Regions from separate parts of the Homo sapiens genome. Here all the other regions are linked to region 5. Evidence: promoter capture Hi-C in 16 types of primary human blood cells and fetal thymus (Javierre and others, 2016). All regions are on one chromosome and are shown on one strand. Each heading gives the region's core, a stretch centred on a gene start or on the middle of the fragment in contact. The rest is flanking DNA. Distances are from core to core; before and after follow the strand shown.

Region 1 (2,700 bases), core at 6-2,505, 2.6 Mb after region 5:
CAGCACTTTGGGAGACCAAGGAGGGCGGATTACCTGAAGTCAGGAGTTCAAGACCAACCTGGCCAACATGATGAAACCCGGTCTCTACTAAAAGAAATACAAAAATTAGCCGGGCGTGATGGCGGGTGCCTGTAATCCCAACTACTCGGGTGGCTGAGGCAGGAGAATTGCTTGAACCCGAGAGGCGGAGCTTGCAATGAGCGGAGATCGCGCCACTTGCACTCCAGCCTGGGCGACAGAACGAGACTGTGTCTCGAAAAAAAAAAAATCACAAAAAATCTCACGTTTTACAAAAGTTTATGAATTTGTTTTGGGCCACCTTCAAAGCCATCCTGGGCAGCATGTGGCCCATGGACAACAAATTGGACAAGCTTGCTCTAGAGGATGACTTCTAAGTATAGCTATGGGCATCCCCCTCAAAGTGGACACCATGCAGGCTGTGTGGCTTGTGCAAGTCACACCATCCCAAATAACATCTTTAAATTTGTCTACCCAGGCATTTCACATGATGTAGCTAACAAAAACTTTTGCTGTTAGAGAAATATACAGAAAATCCTGAAGGATGGATATACACCAAGAATGTTAAAAGTAGCTGCCTCCTATGAGATGAGTAAGTTCTGGAGCCCTGACATACAGTGTGGTGGCTATCTTAGTAATAATGAATTGTATACTTGAAATTTGCTGAGATTATTTATTCTCACCACATAAAAAAATGACATAGGCCGGGTGGGGTGGCTCACGCCTATAATCCCAGCTCTTAGGGAGGCAAGAGGCGGGAGGATAGCTTGAGCCCAGGAGTTCGAGACCTGCCTGGGCAGTATAGCGAGACCCCGTTCTCCAGAAAAAGGAGAAAAAAAAAAAGCGTAAAAAATTACATAAATTTGTAAATGTAATTTGTCAACTTGTAAATTTGTTTAACTCAATTTAACAAGGTGATGGAGATGTTTAGTAACCTCCTTGTGGTAATCATTTCACAATGTATACATGTATCAAAACATTATATACCTTAAATATATACAATTTTCATCAAATACCTCCATGAAGCTATAAAGAAATTTTTAAGTTATATCATAGGATTGTGATAGTATGTTTCATTTTTTGCATGCTATCCAAATTTTTCTGCAGTAAACATATCACTTCTAAGACACTAAATGCTTAATGAACAAAGCCAAAGGTCACCTGTCTAGTGCACTGGACAAGATGTCTATACTCCAAAATTATATTTCAAATTATTTTAAAAGGAGTCTATATAATTCAGCAATATCAAAGTGGTCCAACAGTCATGTGCCAGAGCATACAAAAAGATGTGGTCCTGCTCTTGCTTTAAGTAGGAAAGCAAGATGTACGCATACAAAAATGTTTAAATGCCAGGCAATATGAGGAACTACTGCTAAAGGTATACAAGCAGGAGGTGTTTCATACGTGTTTTGAGAAAGGGCACACTTATTTGTGAGCTGCAACAAGGAAGAAGGGCTTCATGGAAAAGGGGGCCTTGAACAGGACTTTGCAGGATTCAAATTAAATCCTGAAAGAGCAATTCAGAAAGAGAATGACCCTGGGCAGACTGAGATTTGGGAATCAACACAAGCGTCGGAGTGATAGTGAAGAAAGTAACCTGGCTCTCAGCGTAAGAGAAGAACCCCAGTGTTTTCTGGGGGAGTGGTAAAAGGTAAAATGATTGTGGGAACAAGACCAGAAAAAGTAGAACCGGCTTAAATGAATTTGGGGAAAACTGAGTTAAACAAATTTACAAGGATTCGTTGTAGTGATCTAAGCTCTCAGTAGGCTAATGTGCGTTGAGTCCCCACTGAGGGAAGGAAGCTAGTGTTATTAGGGTATAGAAGATACCTTTGGCAAAGCAGGAGTTTAACAGATAATGGAGGAAAAACAATGAAGGGTTTGAATGCTAAGGCTAAACTGGGCATTCTGGCCTTGGTCCTTCTAACAAGGCCTGGATCTCCCACAGAACAAAGGCTAACCTGCTAATATACCTTTAAGTTTTTACACAACAGAACTCAGAACCAGATATTGCTGTCACTTCCCATCCCATCCACTTATTTATATTCCCAACAAAGGTTAGTCCCATCTTCTGAGAGCACCTTACAGTCCGCGGCCCCTTCCTGATGATCTAGAAGCTTGGGAAGCAGCACACCTCCTTATGAAATCACTGAAGGGTGACTATGAGCAACAGGAAGCAGTGGAGGATTCCAAGTATGACATCAGAATACATTTTTTAAAAATCTTTTAGAAATTTTTTAGAATCTGATCAAGCAGTTTTTGCAAATTACAGGTGACAGGCATTTGTTGTAAAATCAATTCAAGGTGACATAGCCAGGATTTCTTAAAAAGCAAAGAAAAAAATGCACACATGCACCAGATACATCGCATGCAAGAAGGGCAAGTCATATTTCAGGATCCTTCTGTCATGTATAATATACTGACCTCTGTGTTCTGAACTGTAGTTCAAAATGTATTTCTTACTTGGGTCACAACTACAAGGTTCAAAAGTCACTACTCTATTAGATGGAGGACTTAAGGCAGAAATTGGAGGCTGCCACATTCACCCAAAAGGCCCTGGGATGGTAGCAGTAGGAAGAAAAGATAAACAGAAGAGACACTTAAAGAATGTGGGTGAGGGAAACCAATGAGAAGGCCAAGGTAACTACACCTGGGTAACTTGGGGAAAAGGTAGCTATAACC
Region 2 (2,700 bases), core at 142-2,641, 2.8 Mb after region 5:
TCGGCTCCTGCAACTTCCGCCTCTTGGGTTCAAGCGATTCTCCTGCCTCAGCCTTCTGAGTAGCTGGGACTACAGGCGTGCACCACCAGGCCCAGCTAATTTTTGTATTTTTAGGAGAGACAGGGTTTTGCCATGTTGGCCAGGCTGGTCTCAAACTCCTGGCTTCAAGTGATCCGCCCGCCTCGGCTCCCAAAAGTGCTGGGATTACAAGCGTGAGCCACCGCACCTGGCCACCATTACTTCTTAACAGGCATACAAAGCCCTTTATCCTTGACTTCTGCCTGCCTCCTAGACCCCCCAGCTTTTGTACATGCTTTTCCCTCTACCTAGAATGCCCCTTCTTTTGGATAGGAAAAATCCTGTTCATCATTTAGTGCCAAGCACAGCCCTCCACACTGTGAGAGAATTTGTCAGTAATTTCTCTCTGCTACACTTAGAGTTTTTAGATACTATAATTCTCTTCTGGTATGGAGCTTTACCAAATAATTCTCACATTTGTTTTCCCAACCATCTGTACAGTTGTTGAAAATAGGAATTGTTTTGTGCCTAGTAGAGATTGAGTATAGGTTTGTTGTATGGAATTGATAGAGATAGCAATAGGGGTTGTTTGGGAACTCTATCACAGTATAACAGGAGTAGAAAGAGGTGAAACTGGCAAATTCAATCTTATTTTCAAAGCTGAAAAAACTTTGCAAAAGTTAGTGAGAAAATTATGACAGTGAAAGAGATCTGAGCTAATCCATCCCCAGTCTTGCCTTGATTATTCTTGGGCTTTTGGGACATTTAGGCTATAGTTTAAATTATCATAGGCCTTCCCCCAAACTCAACTGCTTTTGCATCAGGCTGGCAGGAGGAGAGGAGCCTGGGTCCTGCTAAGGTGCAGACATGAACTATTATCAGTTATTATTCAGAAGGTTATAAGATATGCAACTTCCCCAATTATTCCTGCAGATAACACCACTATTGTAGACTGGCCTTTTGAGATATCTTTTCAGGGTTTTTTTGCATGTCTGACACCCACCATTCCTACAGCCCCACCCAGAAGTGACTCAATGTGCAAGAGGACAGCTTCACCCCTTGTGATTTCATCTCTGCCCCAACTAATCAGCAGCAAGCCTAGCGACCTCCACCACTTCCCCCAAACTGCCTCTGAAAAATCCCTAACCTATAAGCTTTGGATGAGAATTGTGGCTGGCCTTATGTCTATTAAACTCTTTCTTTACTACAATGCCATGATCTTTGTGTAGCAGGCAGGAAGAACCCTTCAGATGGTTACAAAGCCAGGGTGTTGTGCTGGTGCCTAGGTGACCTCAATTTTAATGTAAATTACTCTTGTCGTGAATGGCAAATGGTATTTTTTGCTTTATTTTTATTTTTTCACTTGAAATAAAGAATAAGGCATATCTTTGAAATCTTTCCACCAATATCACAATGTATTTTTTTGGCTTGACTGTTTTAAAGAGAAGTTTATTATATATAACTTGTAGAATTTAGAGTAGAATCATATATGTATCTACTGTTGCTAACAGAGTGCCTTTGCATAGTGGCAATCAAACACTTTAGTCCCAGGACCTTTTACCCTCAAAATATTGAATATTCTAGAAAGCTTTTGTTTTTGTGTGCTCTTTTCTTATTTTTTAACACTTCTGGTTTCATCTGTGACACGTAAACCACTTAGAAGTCAATCACAACTGTCCTCACAAGAAAAAAGCTGAACAAATGGAACATTAACAGCCTTTAAAATATCCATCAGATAATGGAGGTCACAAAGCAAATGGCCACCCCCAAACTGGGTAGGCAAATACAGAAAATCACAACTGATATCAGCATGCTAGGAACAGAAATCCTCATGAGGCAGCAAATGGTAGGAACACTTAAAATGGTCATTGATGACTTGCTGGATGCTGAGTGTGAGTTAGCTTGACAGTTAGAAACTCCTGGGAGACCACTCATATGGTGCCCTTACACTTTTGGGAGTTTTACTTTTCAGAGCTGCAGCAGATTCTTAGGACAAGGATTGGATTAAAACTCCCTCCTGCTTTGTGCAGAAGGAGGGGGCAAAGTAACCTTTTTGAAAACTGCCCTCAGCATTTCCCTAACAAAAGCCTTCTCTCAAGGGAAAGTACTTTACCAGAGCCTTATCTGTTCTAGGGAAAGGGCAATTAGAAGATTCCAGCCCCCTCTAGCCTTCCCGTTGTTAGTGGTAGTGAATCTGCAGGGGGCTGCAGCAACCTCAATTCTTGTCAGAAGAAAGAATTCGACCAAGGGTCATAAGGAAGAGTGAGAGACCAAGGCAAGTTTTAGGGCAAAAGGAAAAATTTATTTAAAAGCTTTAGAGGTGGAACAAAAGGAAGTAAAAGTACACTTGGAAGAGGGCCAAGCAAGCGCCTTGAGAGATCAAGTGCGTGGTTGGACCTTTGATTTTGGGTCTTACATGTTGACATGCTTCCAGGGTTGCATTATTTCTTGCTAATTCTTCCCTCAGGGTGGGCTGTCTGCATGCTCAGTGGCGTGCCAGCACTAGGGCGGGGCTGTATGCATAGTGTGTTTACTGGAGTTGTATGCATGCTCACTTGAAGCATTCTTCTCTTACCCATCAAATGTTCTTAGAAGGTCATATACCAGTTAAACTCTGCCATTTTGCCTCTTAGTGCACATGCTTGAACCCACTTGTCCAACTCCTGAGATCTTATCGGCAAG
Region 3 (2,962 bases), core at 1-2,500, 2.7 Mb after region 5:
TTGCTTCCAGAAGCCTGTCAAAGTATATTCAGACATTTTCCAGGAGAAATGTATAGTTTTCATGTGAACTGATTGGCAAGAAGTGATGCTAAGTTACAATGTAAATACTGGGATTTCTTTCTTAATTATAGCTTTTATAATTAGAACGCAGACAATCTGTAGGGCTATACAGCTTTTACAAATTAAAAAAATATTTTCCCAGATCTTATTCTTGATAGTCTTTTTCACTGGAGCTGACTAGCTTACATTTTCCCACCAAGAGCAAATTTAAAGGACAGATAATCAGCACAATCAACTGTAGTCACAAAACAAATAGTAACACAATGATAAAGAAACAGAGAACTAGTTCAAATAAACATGATAAGATGGGGAAAAAAACAACGGAAACAAATGTGTTCAAAAGCCAACAATAATCCTTAAGATTCAGAAAGCTGAGCCAGACTAAAGCAAGTGATTTAAAGAGGTGGCCTATAAGTAAAATAAGCAAAGATCTGTTTGAGAAATTGCAAAGTGATTTGAAAAATTGCAAATTGGAATTACTTGAGACTAAGGTGGAACATGTTTGTTTCGTTGTAACTAAGAAACAGATGCTCAGTATATTTTTCAACCACGTTGATGAACCCATAGAAAAAGGGGAATAACGGAATCAGGGGTGGTGAGAATTTTAAAATCTAAGTTATAACCATTTTTTCTATTTGCTACAAAAATAATTATTAGAAAAATAGCCGCCATTTTCTGATAGCCTACCATATGTGATACATGTCACAATATGCTTTATGTATACTTACCTATAAAACTTAAGATAGCACTGCAAGTTGGATTATGATTCCATTTTACAAAATAGGAAACTAAGGCTGAGAGAGGTCCCTGTTCATAGTCTTAAAGTTGTCCCTCCATATCTGGTAGGTACTGGTTCCAGGACCCCTGTAGATAGCAAAATTTGCGGGTGCTCCAGTCCTTTATATAAAATGGCTTAGTATTTGCATATAACTCACAATCTCATCCTCTTGCATACTTTAAGCTCTAGATTATTTATAATACCTAATACAATGTAAATGCTATGTAAATAGTTACACTGTATTGTTTAGGGAATTATGACCCCCCCCCCCACAAAAGTCTGGTGAAACCCCCTCTCTACTAAAAATACAAAAAATATCAGCCGGGTGTGGTAGCGGGCACCTGTAATCCCAGCTACTCTGGAGGCTAAGGCAGGAGAATTGCTTGAACCTGGGAGGCAGAGGTTGCAGTGAGCCGAGATCACGCCATTGCACTCCAGCCTGGGCAACAAGAACGAAACTCCGTCTCAAAAAAAAAAAAAGAAAAGAAAAAGTCTGTACGTGTTTAATATAGATGCAACCATCCATTTTTTCCAAATAATCTTGTTTTGCAGTTGGTTGAATCAACAGATAACAGAACCTGTGGATATAGAGTTGACTATACTCTACTTGTCCAGAGGATAAACTTTCAGTAGTCTCAACTTCCTAGACAATTTTCTAAAAAATAGGCTTTTCTACCTGAAAAGGGGTAGTAATACTAATAATGTTTTGGTTTTTTTTTTTTTTTTTTAGACGGAGTCTTGCTCTGTCTTCCAGGCTGGAGTGCAGTGGCACAATCTCAGCTTACTGCAGCCTCCACCTCCTGGGTTCAATCAATTCTTCTGCCACCACGCCTGGCTAATTTTTTTGTATTTTTAGTAGAGACGGGGTTTCACCATGCTGGCCAGGCTGGTCTCGAACTCCTGACCTCGTGACCTGCCTGCCTCGGCCTCCCAAAGTGCTGGAATTACAGATATGAGCCACCGTGCCTGGCACTAATAATTTTTTTTTTTTTTTTGGAGACAGAATTTTGCTCTGTCGCCAGGCTGGAGTGCAGTGGTGCGATCTGGGCTCACTGCAACCTCTGCCTCCCGGGTTCAAGCGATTCTCCTGCCTCAGCCTACCGAAAAGCAGGGATTACAGGCGCCTGCTGCCATGCCCGGCTAATTTTTTTGGTATTTTTAGTAGAGATGGGGTTTCACCATGTTGGCCAGCATGGTCTCCATCTCTTGACCTCGTGATCCACCCACCTCGGCCTCCCAAAGTGCTGGGATTACAAGCGTGAGCCACTGCGCCCGGCCACTAATAATTTTTAAAAGCCCCTAGAACTACCGTAGCTTCTAAAAAGGGAGGAAAGGAACGATTCACAAGTATTGAATTAAGAAAAGAGAATTCAGTTACCTGTAAGTCCTTATTTGGCTAAATATGTTTGGAACAAAGAAGAGACTAGATGTGAAGAGAGAAGACAAGAAGTACGAAAATAAGATAGATCAGTCTGAAGCCAGGAAACAGGGAAAACAAAAACAGCCCTGTTACTGAGTGGTTGTAAAGTACAATAATTCATATTAATGGTATGTCAAATGTTGGTCTATTTCCAGTAGATTTCGAGTTAAGTCAAAGAAGAAGTTTTGATTCTTAAAAAGTTGGTCATATTTTTGTAAATTGGAAAATCTGCTTTTGCAGAACCCCCTCATTCCTCAACCCTACAGTTCTACTATTTAAAAACTTAGGCTGAAAAGGCCCAAGAACAGCCTATTCTTGAAGAAGAAAAACAAAGCAGGGGGACTTAAATTACTGTGATAGCAAGACTTATTATTAAGAGTATCTGGTATGGCAGCAAGGACAGATAGGCTAGTGGAACAGAACAGAGAATCCAGAAGCAGAGCCACATACGTGCATATAACCATTTGATTTAAAAAGAAGACATCAGAGCTTAGTAGAGAAAGGCCGATCTGTTAGGTACACATTGCTGGGACAGTTGGATATCTCTTTGGAAAAAAGTATGCTTTGACTCTTATCTCACACCATACACAAAACTCAAGTCCAGATAAAAATATGAAAGGTAAAATAAAAAGCATTTAGAAGAAAGTATAGGAGAACATCTTCAAGTAAGATGTAGGCAAGGATTTCTTAACTAGGACACAAAC
Region 4 (2,700 bases), core at 50-2,549, 2.8 Mb after region 5:
GTAGCAAGTTGTGGTGTGTTAAGGTCTCAGATTGGTATATAGCAGTTCTCCTTTATCTGCAGTTTCACTTTCCACAGTTTCCATTACCCACAGTCAACTGAGGTCCAAAAATATTAAATGGAAAATTTCAGAAATAAACAATTCATAAGTTTTAAATTGTGCTTCATTCAGCGTAGTGTGATCGAATCTCCTGCCATCCTGCTCAGTCCTGTCTGGAACATGAATCATCCTTTTGTCTAGTATGTCCCTGCTGTATATGTTACTGCCCATTAGCCACTTACTAGCCAAATGTATCATCAGAAGGTCAGTAGTAGCCTAATCCTGTATTACAATGCCTGTGTCATTCACCTCACTTCATCTCATTATGTAGGCATTTTATCATGTCACGTCATTACAGGAAGGGTAAGTATTGCACAGTAAGATTTAGAGAGAGGAGACCATATTCACATAACTTTTATTATGTTGTCAAAATTACTCTATTGTTAAACTCTTACTATACCTAATTTATAAATTAAACTTTATCATAGGTATGTATGTATAGGAAAAAATATAGGGGTTGGTACTATATGCAATTTCAGGGAGCCACTGGAGGTCTTAGAACACATTCTCCACAGATAAAGAGGAACTACTATAGTTTATTTTTAGTTCTTTAAATAGGTAAACATTTATTTAATCACCTCATTTGTTATTTTACATGAAGTCTTAATTTTTGAAAGGACTCTTATTTAAATAGTTCATCTGAGCCTCATGATAAATTGGAATTTTTCCTGACTATTGCTGTTCTAGAGAAAAGTTTAAAATATACTTGAAGTTAATTTTTAGATTCTTGAATACTTCACTCTTGTTTAGGTCATACCAAGAAGTTACATTAAATGATTATTGTTTTTAATATCATTCTTTTCTGGAACTTTTGTTTTATAATAGTTGCTCTCCTTTGGCGAAAGGCAGTGTGTGTTCATCAGTAAAGTTGTGGTACACATGAGATCAGTTTTTGCAAATTCTTCAACAAGCTCTCCTGCTCTAGGATCAAGGATAGACCTTGACAAGGTCCAAACCATAATGGAGTCCATGGGGTCAAAGTTATCTCCTGGAGCTCAGCAGTTGATGGATATGGTTAGGTGTCAGCAGCGGGTAAGTAGAAATGGATTTCTTTCCAGATAACATTAATGATTTCAAAACCATTGCTTTTAGTAAAGAAATGTAGTGACTTAAAATTTTTCTTTCATACTGATTTAACTGTTATCTTTTAGTTTTGTAGAAGTTAACATTTGTTAGATTTGCCCTTCTACAAAGTGTTTTGACTACACATTTTCACACTTTTTATGAATGCATTCATTCATTCAGCAAGATTTTTTTCTTGCAGTAAACAAGGCACTGGTTTGAGCAATTTTGAGTGTGCGAAGATGGTCAGTTAATCTGTAGTCTTTAAGAATTTTTACATTCTGGAGCATGTAAGTGGGGAATGATGAAAACACTAAGGAAAGGCTCACTAAAAGAAGTGGTATTTTATCTAGGCCTTTAAAATGTAGGGTGGGATTAGACAAGTAAATTTGGAAGAAGGCCATTTCAGACAAAAAATAAGGTGAATAAAATCTTCAATGCTAGAAGAATTTGATATAGCTGGGAAATGAATGGTAGTTCATTTCTCTGAAGCAAAAAAGTAATAGGCAAAGTTTAAAGTAGATTTCAGCTAGATCATAAACAGCTTGGGATGCTGGTTTAAATTTGTAGATGTTTTTGACTTATGTTTCAAGAAATTTTAAGCCACTGTCAAGTGTAAGGTGAATCTGAAGAAAGTGAGACTACAAGGAGAAGATGAGCTGCACGTCATTCCCCTCGTCCAGATGAGAGTGAATGAGGTCTAAGATTGGACGTAGTAACATAATGCTGGATGCTAAATGATGCTAAAATGATGGAGCCATTGGGACTTGACAGCTAACTTAATATTGGTATTATGATAGAAAAATCAAGTTAAACATGAAATTGAGGCTTTGAAGATGGTGATACTAATAATATAAATGCAGCCCAAAGGAGGAGGATGCTTGGAGGAAAAAGGAATTTAATTTTGGGAACATTGACTTTTAGCTGTGAATAAGACATTCCCTGGAAGGATGTTGCAAACATCTGGAAACAGAGGATTAGGAGAAATGGAATGAACCTTCAGTGGCTGGAAGGGAAGTTTAGGGGTGTACCCACAGTAGCTGACGGAGGGTGGTGAAGGGAGAGGAAAAAGGAACCAGAAACATAGAAGGCAGCAGTGTGATAGAGTAGCAAGAGAAACGATTTGATGTCAGGTAAAGTGACTTCAAACTCTTGTCCTGCCTCTTCTTAGTTCTGCATCCTATGGCAAGTTAATTAATATTTTTTTCAATATGAATTCCTCATGTACAAAATCTAAATGATAACACTGTAAGGATCACAGAATTGATGTGAAAATTTAAAATAAGTAATGCAAGTAAAGAACTCCTTGTAGATGTTGTGTGGTTCACAAATATTAATGTAGTACCAGTATTATAATATGGGCTGAGTTAAGAGAACCAGGAGAGCTGAAGATTATGGAAACCACAGAAAGAAGAATTTCAAAAAAGATGGAAATGTATACTTTTCTTCCTCCCACACCATGTTCTCACCTGGATACCTCAGGAGATTCCTAACTGGCCCACCTGTCCTGCTACAATCTGTTTTCCACAATGTACCGAG
Region 5 (2,842 bases), core at 107-2,606:
TTTGAGCATAAATGGTAACATTTACTTAGTTCTTTTACACCAACTTCAAAGAAAAAAGATGAGTCAAGGAGTATGATGGTTATGGTTATCAGCTAGAAAATGGACCACCCACATCTCTTTTAAAATGTATTCATGTAAAGTGGAGAAGCAGAAACCAAGGAGACTCAATGGTATCATGTTAACTAGATGCAAACTTTAGTAAAGCCTATTTTCAGTATTAAAGATGTATTTTAATTCTTTTTTTTTTTTTTTTTGAGACGCAGTCTTGCTTTGTCGCCCAGGCTAGGGTGCAGTGGAGCAATCATGGCTCACTGCAACCTCGGCTTCTGGGGTTTACGCCATTCTCCTGCCTCAGCCTCCCTAGTAGCTGGAATTACAGGCGTGCACTACCACGTCCGGCTAATTTTTGTATTTTTAGTAGAGACAGGGTTTTGCCATGTTGGCCAGGCTGGTCTCGAACTCCCCGACCTCAGGTGATCCACCCACCTCGGCCTCCCAAAGTGCTAGGATTACAGGCGTGAGCCACCGCGCCCGGCCAAAGATGTATTTTAATTTTAATAACACATCATTCATAAAATAGTCTGGTAGAACATTTGGGCTTTTTGTTTTAATGCAAATATTTAGTAATCGATGCATCGGTTCATGCATGCATGCATGGTTCAAATACTCTTGAGTCTCTAACTTCATAGAAAGGCATTGGGGGTTCGTTCCTCACAGCCTGCACTTGCACACTCCCAAAGCAAGTTCGGCGTCTGGGTTCAATATTCTAACCTTTCACGCAGTACCTCTTCTGCATGGCAAACATTTTACACCCTTTGTGAATTAGTTCGGTCTCATTCTCGGCGAGTCACTACCTGGCACCGTTTCTTCCCTCCTGCTTTGCACGACTGTGCCACGTTTTGGAACGACATATTTACATGTACCCTCCTTGAGAGGAAAGATCGTATCTAATTCACCTGTCGGCTACCAGAACTGCTTTTAATACGAATACCTGCCGACTGGAGCATGGACTTCAACTCCCTGTTTTGGGGGTGTCAGGGAAACATGGAGAAGCCTCCAGAATCTGCCGGGAACCGTGGCATCCCTCCCCGGTGGAGCGGGTCCTCCGCTCCCACATCCCTGGCAGGTCCCCCTCCGCGGAGGACTCACCTGTGCAGAAGATTCCTCGGATTCTCCCTGGGACAGGAGGCTGAGCCCTCCTCGAGCGGCGGCCCCGGCCGGCGGACCCTCGGCTCCGGCCTCCTTGGCATCCCCCATCACTTCGATCCAGGGCAGGCGATACGACGGGGGAGCGGAGGAGCAGCAGCAGCAACGCAGGCCCAAAGCAGGGTAAGCGCCAGAGACGCTCCGCGGACCGCACTTCCGGTCTCTGCCAGGAAGAAGTAGCTGTGACTCGCCATTAAATCTCGCGATCTTTGTCCCGAAGGCCCGGCCCCGCCTCCCGCTGCGGGTGCCACCTTCGCGGCCAGGGCGGGAATTGTAGTGCGCCTGCGCTTGTCCGAACCTCTTCGGGAGACTACTTCTCGCGGTATCTGACTCCTAGGCTCCGCCCTCTGCACGCCGCTCACGGTATCTGACGCTCAGGCTCCGCCCCCTGCATGTCTTTGTTGGCAAACAGTTCTGGGGGTCGTCCGATCCTGCAGGTAGTGTCCGCGTGGGAGGGGAGGTGCAGCCGTCAGCGCTGCCGGCGGCTCCCGTTACGTGAATTAGTGAGAGGTTCAAACTTCTTCCCCAGGCTTCAGTGTCACATCTTTTCACACGGGCACCCCGAGGGCCCGGACTGGAAAGGCGAGCCAGCCATCTCGAGACTGGGCGCTCCTGCCCGCCTTTTAGTGCCCATGTGGCCCCATCCTGGGTGTGGGAGCGGCGGGGCTTCCGGGGAGGGCGCTGGGACGCGCGGACGAGGCCCTCCCCGTTTAGGGAATGGGTGGCTTTCGGAGTCTTCTGGGGGCCCGGCATGCCCGCTGCTTGCGGGGCGTCCCAGGTGGTGCAGGACCCGTGAGACGCTGAACCTGGGGCCTCGTAACGCCTAGGTTTCCATTCGGGCGCTCTGGATGGGTCCGAGACTCGGCATTTCTCACAGGTTCCCAGGAAACGATGCCAGCGCTTTGAGTAGCGAAGAGGTGGAGAAATAGCCCGGGCCGTTTGCAAGCTTTGAAGGTCCAGGCTCTCTTTCACACTCCTCAGTGTCATCTCAAACTGTCAAACGCAGCCACATCCGTTATACAATACATGTTTTGTAGTAAAAGTGTTTTGTTGTGCCGTAAGATACAGAAAGTGTTTTTAAAAATTAACTTGGCTCTTGCAATTTGGCTGTCTCAATTTGTAATTCACGTTTGGCTCTTACAACTCACTGTCCTGTCCGTTTTCAGGAATGCTCCTGATGAGTAAGCATTCAACTCACAAATTGCTTTCAAATGTAACAAAACAATTTTATGAATTAAATTTAACAGGCCGGGCGCGGTGGCTCACGCCTTTAATCCCTGCACTTTGGGAGGCCGAGGTGGGCAGATTGCCTGAGGTCAGGAGATCGAGACCAGCCTGACGAACAGGGTGAAACCCCATCTCTACTAAAAATACAAAAATTAGCCAGATGTGGTGGTGGGCGCCTGTAATCCCAGCTACTAGGGAGGCTGAGGCAGGAGAATCGCTTGAACCTGGGAGGCAGAGGTTGCAGTGAGCAGAGATGGCAACACTGCGCTCCAGCCTGGGCGATAGTGAGACTCTGTCTTAAAAAAATAATAATAGTGAATTAAATTTAACAGTTAATTTGATATAATAGTGTATTTTGTAGACATTTACTTCAACATGTATTGATTTTGATTTTTATCATTTCATTTGA
Region 6 (2,880 bases), core at 243-2,742, 2.7 Mb after region 5:
CCCCCCACAATCCCCCAGGACCTTGCTTCATTTTATAGACAGAAAAGAAGAAAGGCAAATGGTTGAGTGAGAACTCCTGGAACTATTTTTTGTCTTATTTTATTTATGATGCCATTTCTGTTCCGGTCCTCTGTTTCTCAAACTTATTAATGTTACCCATTAATAAGTGGCAATCGGTATTTTTCTAAAATGAAATCAAGTAGAACACAGAGTTCATTAAACATGTGAAGGTGTTTTGTGAAACTTGTTTCCACACATGAGTTCGTGTACTGGGTTATACCCTGGGTTACAATATAAAATCAACTGGTAGATCATAGTTTTATACAAATTCAAAAACAGTATGGCTGGTATATTGTTTCCTTTTCCAGTGTTCTAAGCTTTTGTAAAGGTAATAAATGATGGTGATGCAGGGGAGCAGAATGGGAAGCACAGACTGGAACTGGATGTAATTCTGGACCCCAGGTTACCCAAATATTTAGTAGCTGTTCAGTCTTGGACAAGTTACTTGTTCCTCTATGAACTTCCATTTCCCCATTTGTAAAATTACACCTACCTTATAGGACTGTGAAGATTAGAAACAGTATTTGTAAAGCGCTTAACGTATAGAAAGGTGCTCAAAAAATGTTCATTGCTGGTTTTTAAAGGTACAATTTTAAATATAGCAATACAGTATTCAAAACCTAATGGAATTACTGTGTAAAACTCTAGTTACCACATATTTCATCTATTATATAAATTCAGATTTATAATACATTGACTTTACTCAAATTCCATGCTGATCTTACACCTGGCCCCTGACTACCTTTCCCCCCTTCTTACCTCACCCCGTGCTCAATGGCCTCTTCTCGATTCTGCAACACTGCAACCAGCCAACCTTTGCGCTTCTGCACTTGATGTGTTCATTGCCTAGAATGATCCTCCAGATAGCTGCATGGTTCGCTCTTACCCATCTTTGCTTAAATGTCATCTCTGAGAAGGCTTCCTGATTACCTTTTTAAAAATAAATCCTCCCATCACTACACTGCCTTACCTTACTTAAATTTTCTTCAGAGCATGGGCATATACTCATGTAATCATGTTTTGTCTGTCTCCTCATTAGAATGTTCTGCTCCCTGCCGATTCCCCAGCATCTAGAGTAAGGCCTAGTACAGTAAGGCAACTCAGTAAAAATTTGTTGGATGGATGAACACTCAGTTCCAGAGGTAGAATTTTTAGTTACATTTAGTCAAATTGCATAATTAAATTGAAAACATGATGTGAACTTTTATGACTGAAAACTAATAAACTCTGAGTGTCGGGAATAACAGTAGCAGTAGAAAGTCACAATCATACCAACTCAACACATAACTGACACATCATACCTTTTGCTTCCTTCATTGTCTGAGATACAATCCTTCGGAGTGTCTGATCAGTTTTATGAAGAATGTTAGTTGAACAAATAATTCTGTCTGTGTCCTATGTTAATACAGACATTGTTATTAGAAGTCACATAGTTTTATAAAATAAATGGCTAAAGAATAGGTCACATGTATTTGAAAGGACTAAAAGAAAAGTTTAAGCGGCTTTTCTGTTTGTTATTCTTCCCTACAAGAGAGTCCAACCAAATCAGATCCAGTGGTAAACTGGGTTCCAGCTAGGCGGTGATATGCTGGTGAATGTCTAATAATTGACTCTCCCAGAAAAAAACCCCAGACCTATCTGTAGTGTTTGCCAATTTCTGTGATGTAAACATTCCTACCAACAAACCATCAACAGGCTCCAACACTTTTGAAAGTTTAACAATCGGCTTTGCCCAGCCGGCATGAGCTGTCAGCAGTGAGTGCTGGTGAGAGGCCAAGCCAATGACAACGCATCTCCCGTTTCACTCACATTTTATATTCGGCTCAAAAGATCTTCCTACAAAAAGTTGTTCCTTCTCATTTACATTAAATTTACACTGGAAGTTTACCTTTTGTTCCATATTGTCCTCAGCATATTTTACTGGATTTTCCAAAGCAGTGAGCAATAAATCAGTCACTTCCAGGCTACAGAGAAAATGGGATAAAATACAATAGATCCTTATATCCAACATCTGACTTTTTTTTTTTTTTTTTTTGAGATGGAGTCCTGGAGTCTTGCTCTGTCACCCAGGCTGGAGTGCAGCGGCGTGATCTCTGCTCACTGCAAGCTCTGCTTCCCGGATTTGCGCCATTCTCCTGCCTCAGCCTCCCGAGTAGCTGGGACTACAGGCGCCCACCACCACGCCCAGCTAATTTTTTGTATTTTTTAGTAGAGATGGGGTTTCACCGTGTTAGCCAGGATGGTCTAGATCTCCTGACCTCGTGATCCACCTGCCTCAGCCTCCCAAAGTGCTGGGATTACAGGCGTGAGCCACCATGCCCAGCCAACATCTGACTTTTAAGGAACTTGTATTTATGAATATTAAACTGAATTCTAGAGGAATGAAACTGCTATAACCCAAGATTCTTAACAAAAGGAAAAAAACTAAATGATTTAGAAGCTAGCTTCCATGTAGACAATCCAAATGCAGTAGCTCAAAACAAATGATAAGCTAAGGACCCCTCATTAAAAAATACCAATTTCCTAAGACTCATGTCAATAAGCTTTGAAAAGTCATTCTCTTTTCCCCTCTTAAGGCTGAACCGGGGGCCACAAGAGCTCAACTTTATTCTCTATGGAAAGATGCCTGGTCTTTACTTTCTGGCTCCCGCTTATTTACTGGATATGGATGAGCAAAGTTTCTCACTGAGCAAAGGTCCATGAAGGTTTCAGGTAGAATTCATTCATTGATTTAACAAATATGTATTGAACGTCTTATATGAAAAATACTGTACAACCACATGCTGAGCTGGGGGTGTAGCAAGATCCTTGCGTTTGCCA
Region 7 (2,854 bases), core at 110-2,609, 2.6 Mb after region 5:
TCGCAGAGGCTGTTGTGAGGTCAAACTACCCAGCACCGAGCCTGGCACACCGTGGTGCTCAGTAAATAGTGATTCCCTCTGTGTTCTCATAGCCCCCTTCTGTGCCCTGGCTCTCGCCCCTTTAATTCCTAGATCAGCTGTTACCCGAGCTAGAATTAGCCCAGCCAAGCAAAGCGGTTTGGGGCCACAGTCGTCTGCACAAGCTTCCTGGAAACTGAAGTGAGGCAAGGCCCGAAGTGCTCAGGCAACCCCGTCCCCTCAAGCTGTGACCTCTAGACCTCTTGGCCAAGAGATTCCAGAAGCCCTGTCTTTAGGGTGCCCCCCAAGTGCAGCCAAGGGTGAGTGGAGACTCTGGAATCAGTCCCCACAAATGTCCAGACACTGCATGACTGTGCAGTTCCTTCCTCGCCTGCACCGCGCCCGGGTTATTAAGTAAAGCGCTTATAATATCATTAGCCGCGGTGAGTTACCGACTGCGGCCCTGCCCGTGGCAGAACTCTTCCCTACTTAACTCCTCGAGGGGCTCGTTAATGGGCTAATTGATTAGGAGTCGGCCGCGCAGCCGGGGCAGGGGCAGGCGAGGGGGCGGGGGCCAGGGGGTGCGCGCAGCGGCCCGGGAGGCCAGCGAGGGGCAGGTGCCGGCCTCCGTCACCGCATTAACCTCTTCAGGGCTCAGCGGCAGGGTCGAGACACATTACAAATGGTCAGCTTTAATCATGGTGTCAGCTCATTAACCCGGAAGGACCTGGCGCTGAAATACAATTTGTGCGTTCTCCTCTGCGCCGCGGCGGCGCAGGCTCCTGGGCCACGTCGCAGCGGGTCCCGCGTGCTCCCGCGCTGTTGGGGGGTACGCGGGAGGTTCAGCGAAAGAATCGTCGGATTCTCACTAACCATCCGCTTCTCGCAGACATCCTGAGCTAGGCGCTGCCTCCGGAGCCAGGGTCAAGGCAGCCCCGAGGGGAACTGGCCAGCTAACTCGGGGAGCAGTGCCAGCCACCCCGCTGGGGAAGAAAGCTGGGGGCAGGCAGGGAAAGTTGGTCGAACCTTCCTGAACTGTAAATATGTCGTGCGGGGAACATGCTGGAAGCTCCCCAGCATTCTTCGCTTTAATCCTGATGGCAAACAAGTGACACAGATCTATTCACTCAATGTACAGGCCGGGAAACTGAGGCTCAAGAAAACAAGAGACTAGCCCAGGCAGACAAAGCAAGACTCGTGCTCAAGGTTGTTCCACTGCCAATACATCACATTTGGGAGGAGGGAGAGAGGAGCAGACACAGGCATTGAGCTTGGAGGATGGCTGCGGGGAAGACTGTGAGGATCCTGCTGACTCGGGATGGCGGGGGCGGGTATATGGGTGGGGCAAGAGCCCAAGGAGTGATCTCTGTCAGATCAGGGGACCTCGAAGTGGGCCTCGGAAAAGCAACTCCCAGGCCCTGAAACAGTGAGAGACTGGGGAGTCGACCCTTGCAAGAAGCCTGGCTTGCGGACTCTAAACAAGGAAGTTATGAAGCCTTGCGTCCCTATCTCTCCTTCCCCTAGGGATAGTTTGGGAAGTCAAAAAGATCCATCTTGCCTTGTATTTCCTCTGTCCCGTCCCTCTAATCGCTTCGAGGGTCTGATCTTCACCGAGGCACTTCCTCTGCTGCCACACCCGGCAAAGGACGCATTAATTCGCATGAAGGCACTTGCATAAACGCCTGCGCACACTCACACATTCATTCAGCAAACGTTCACTGAGCTCCTACTAGTGCGTGCACTTTACCAGGGAAGAGATGGTGGTGGGCACGGGGCTGGGGCAAGGAAGGCTGTGGTGGAGACCCAGCTCTGCAGCCTGACTGACTGCAGTTCCCCTGAGCTCCCCTCGATTGATAGCCCGAGGGACCTCCCGCCCCTCCAGCACCTATAGCCGTCACACCGCAAGGACGGGAGGGACAAGAAACAACCTTCCTTGCCGCCCCTTTCTAGCATATGGGGATCTTCACCGGGAGCACGGAGGCCCAGACGCCCTCTCCTGGGCCCAGTGTAGCTACAAAACTCACTCCCAGGAACACTCAGTTCCTGGAACCACCACCCACAGACACCTCATGTCTCTCCCCTAACGAGTGGCAATCCTTCAACTCAGTACTATCCCACACCCCGCCCACCTCCCTAGCCTTGGGATAGCTCCGCCCAATCCTACTCAGTTTAATACCCACACCTTGGAGGATGGCCCCTCTGCATCTTTGGGATCGACCCCCTGTCTCCCTCTCCTAGGAATTAGGCATAACCAGGTTCCAAGGAATGATAAACTTTCTGAGCCTGAAAGAACGCTTAAAGTTTAGGTCCCGAGATTATGCCACTGCTCAATATTAAAGCGGCCCAGAGCAAACTTGCCGAGGATCCTAATAAAAATTGATCCTCTCTGCTCTGCGGCAGTTGGGAAATAGGCTGGCTGAGCCGGGTAATAGAAGAAGGCTCCCTCCGAAATGACAGATGAAGTCATAAACAAGTTTGATCTTGGAATCAAGCTTCGATAAATATTAAACACAGTCTGCCCCCCCGCCCCCACGCGAGTGGATTATGATATATGGCGCGTCCAAACTTTAAAATAAGGAAATACCAGAGAAAATGATCTCAATAAATTTTCTAAGTATAAACGTTGATTATGTTTCGATTTTCGTTCAAGGGCCTCTGCTGTTCGTTCTTTGGTGCAAATGACATCTCACAATAGGCTTTTGGGGAAAAGGGCTCCCTATTTGAAAAAGAGAGCCCCAGAGGTGTACAATTTATGTAATCTGCTGCTGGAAAATGAATTGTGTAATTTATTGGAAAACAGAAAGTCATGAAGATTGGATCAGCATAGCCGAGTCCC

What was found. Contacts are between HindIII fragments. The CHiCAGO score rates a contact against its expected background, and 5 or more counts as called.
Region 1: a contact is called between a fragment that was not itself captured here and the fragment with the promoter of EDRF1 in region 5, in 1 of 17 cell types (total CD4 T cells). The highest score is 5.0, in total CD4 T cells.
Region 2: a contact is called between a fragment that was not itself captured here and the fragment with the promoter of EDRF1 in region 5, in 1 of 17 cell types (total CD4 T cells). The highest score is 7.2, in total CD4 T cells.
Region 3: a fragment that was not itself captured here is called in contact with the fragment with the promoter of EDRF1 in region 5 in 8 of 17 cell types (fetal thymus, total CD4 T cells, total B cells and 5 more); the score reaches 9.9 in fetal thymus.
Region 4: a fragment that was not itself captured here is called in contact with the fragment with the promoter of EDRF1 in region 5 in 4 of 17 cell types (non-activated CD4 T cells, naive B cells, naive CD8 T cells and 1 more); the score reaches 7.0 in non-activated CD4 T cells.
Region 6: a fragment that was not itself captured here is called in contact with the fragment with the promoter of EDRF1 in region 5 in 1 of 17 cell types (non-activated CD4 T cells); the score reaches 5.1 in non-activated CD4 T cells.
Region 7: a fragment that was not itself captured here is called in contact with the fragment with the promoter of EDRF1 in region 5 in 1 of 17 cell types (monocytes); the score reaches 6.6 in monocytes.

What each region holds. Positions count from the first base shown.
Region 1 is chr10:123,166,122-123,168,821 of GRCh38, reverse strand. BUB3 (BUB3 mitotic checkpoint protein) reads right to left here. Exons shown (of 8, transcript NM_004725.4): 8 at 1-2,700. Among named protein-coding and RNA genes, the nearest start is that of BUB3, 13 kb to the right of the region's middle. The HindIII fragment of the contact is 1,764 bases long and covers 374-2,137 here.
Region 2 is chr10:122,875,783-122,878,482 of GRCh38, reverse strand. The region is part of intron 1 of FAM24B (family with sequence similarity 24 member B); the gene reads left to right. All of the region lies in intron 1 of FAM24B-CUZD1 (FAM24B-CUZD1 readthrough), which reads left to right. Among named protein-coding and RNA genes, the nearest start is that of FAM24B, 2.4 kb to the left of the region's middle. RefSeq lists enhancers at 1,653-2,172, 2,173-2,693. The HindIII fragment of the contact is 434 bases long and covers 1,175-1,608 here.
Region 3 is chr10:123,001,391-123,004,352 of GRCh38, reverse strand. The region is part of intron 2 of IKZF5 (IKAROS family zinc finger 5); the gene reads left to right. Among named protein-coding and RNA genes, the nearest start is that of IKZF5, 5.9 kb to the left of the region's middle. The HindIII fragment of the contact is 6,203 bases long and covers 1-2,962 here.
Region 4 is chr10:122,947,080-122,949,779 of GRCh38, reverse strand. C10orf88 (chromosome 10 open reading frame 88) reads left to right here. Exons shown (of 6, transcript NM_024942.4): 4 at 925-1,131. Among named protein-coding and RNA genes, the nearest start is that of C10orf88, 5.8 kb to the left of the region's middle. The HindIII fragment of the contact is 3,733 bases long and covers 1-2,700 here.
Region 5 is chr10:125,718,223-125,721,064 of GRCh38, reverse strand. It overlaps EDRF1 (erythroid differentiation regulatory factor 1), which reads right to left and starts at 1,356. Exons shown (of 25, transcript NM_001202438.2): 1 at 1,150-1,356. The coding sequence starts at 1,257. It overlaps EDRF1-DT (EDRF1 divergent transcript), which reads left to right and starts at 1,572. Exons shown (of 5, transcript NR_033847.1): 1 at 1,572-1,643. RefSeq lists enhancers at 473-1,455, 1,571-1,650, 2,131-2,240. The HindIII fragment of the contact is 5,171 bases long and covers 1-2,154 here.
Region 6 is chr10:122,985,444-122,988,323 of GRCh38, reverse strand. PSTK (phosphoseryl-tRNA kinase) reads right to left here. Exons shown (of 6, transcript NM_001363531.2): 4 at 1,949-2,024; 5 at 1,362-1,455. Among named protein-coding and RNA genes, the nearest start is that of PSTK, 6.5 kb to the right of the region's middle. The HindIII fragment of the contact is 2,226 bases long and covers 380-2,605 here.
Region 7 is chr10:123,144,198-123,147,051 of GRCh38, reverse strand. No RefSeq gene overlaps it. Among named protein-coding and RNA genes, the nearest start is that of HMX2, 2.5 kb to the left of the region's middle. The HindIII fragment of the contact is 2,307 bases long and covers 206-2,512 here.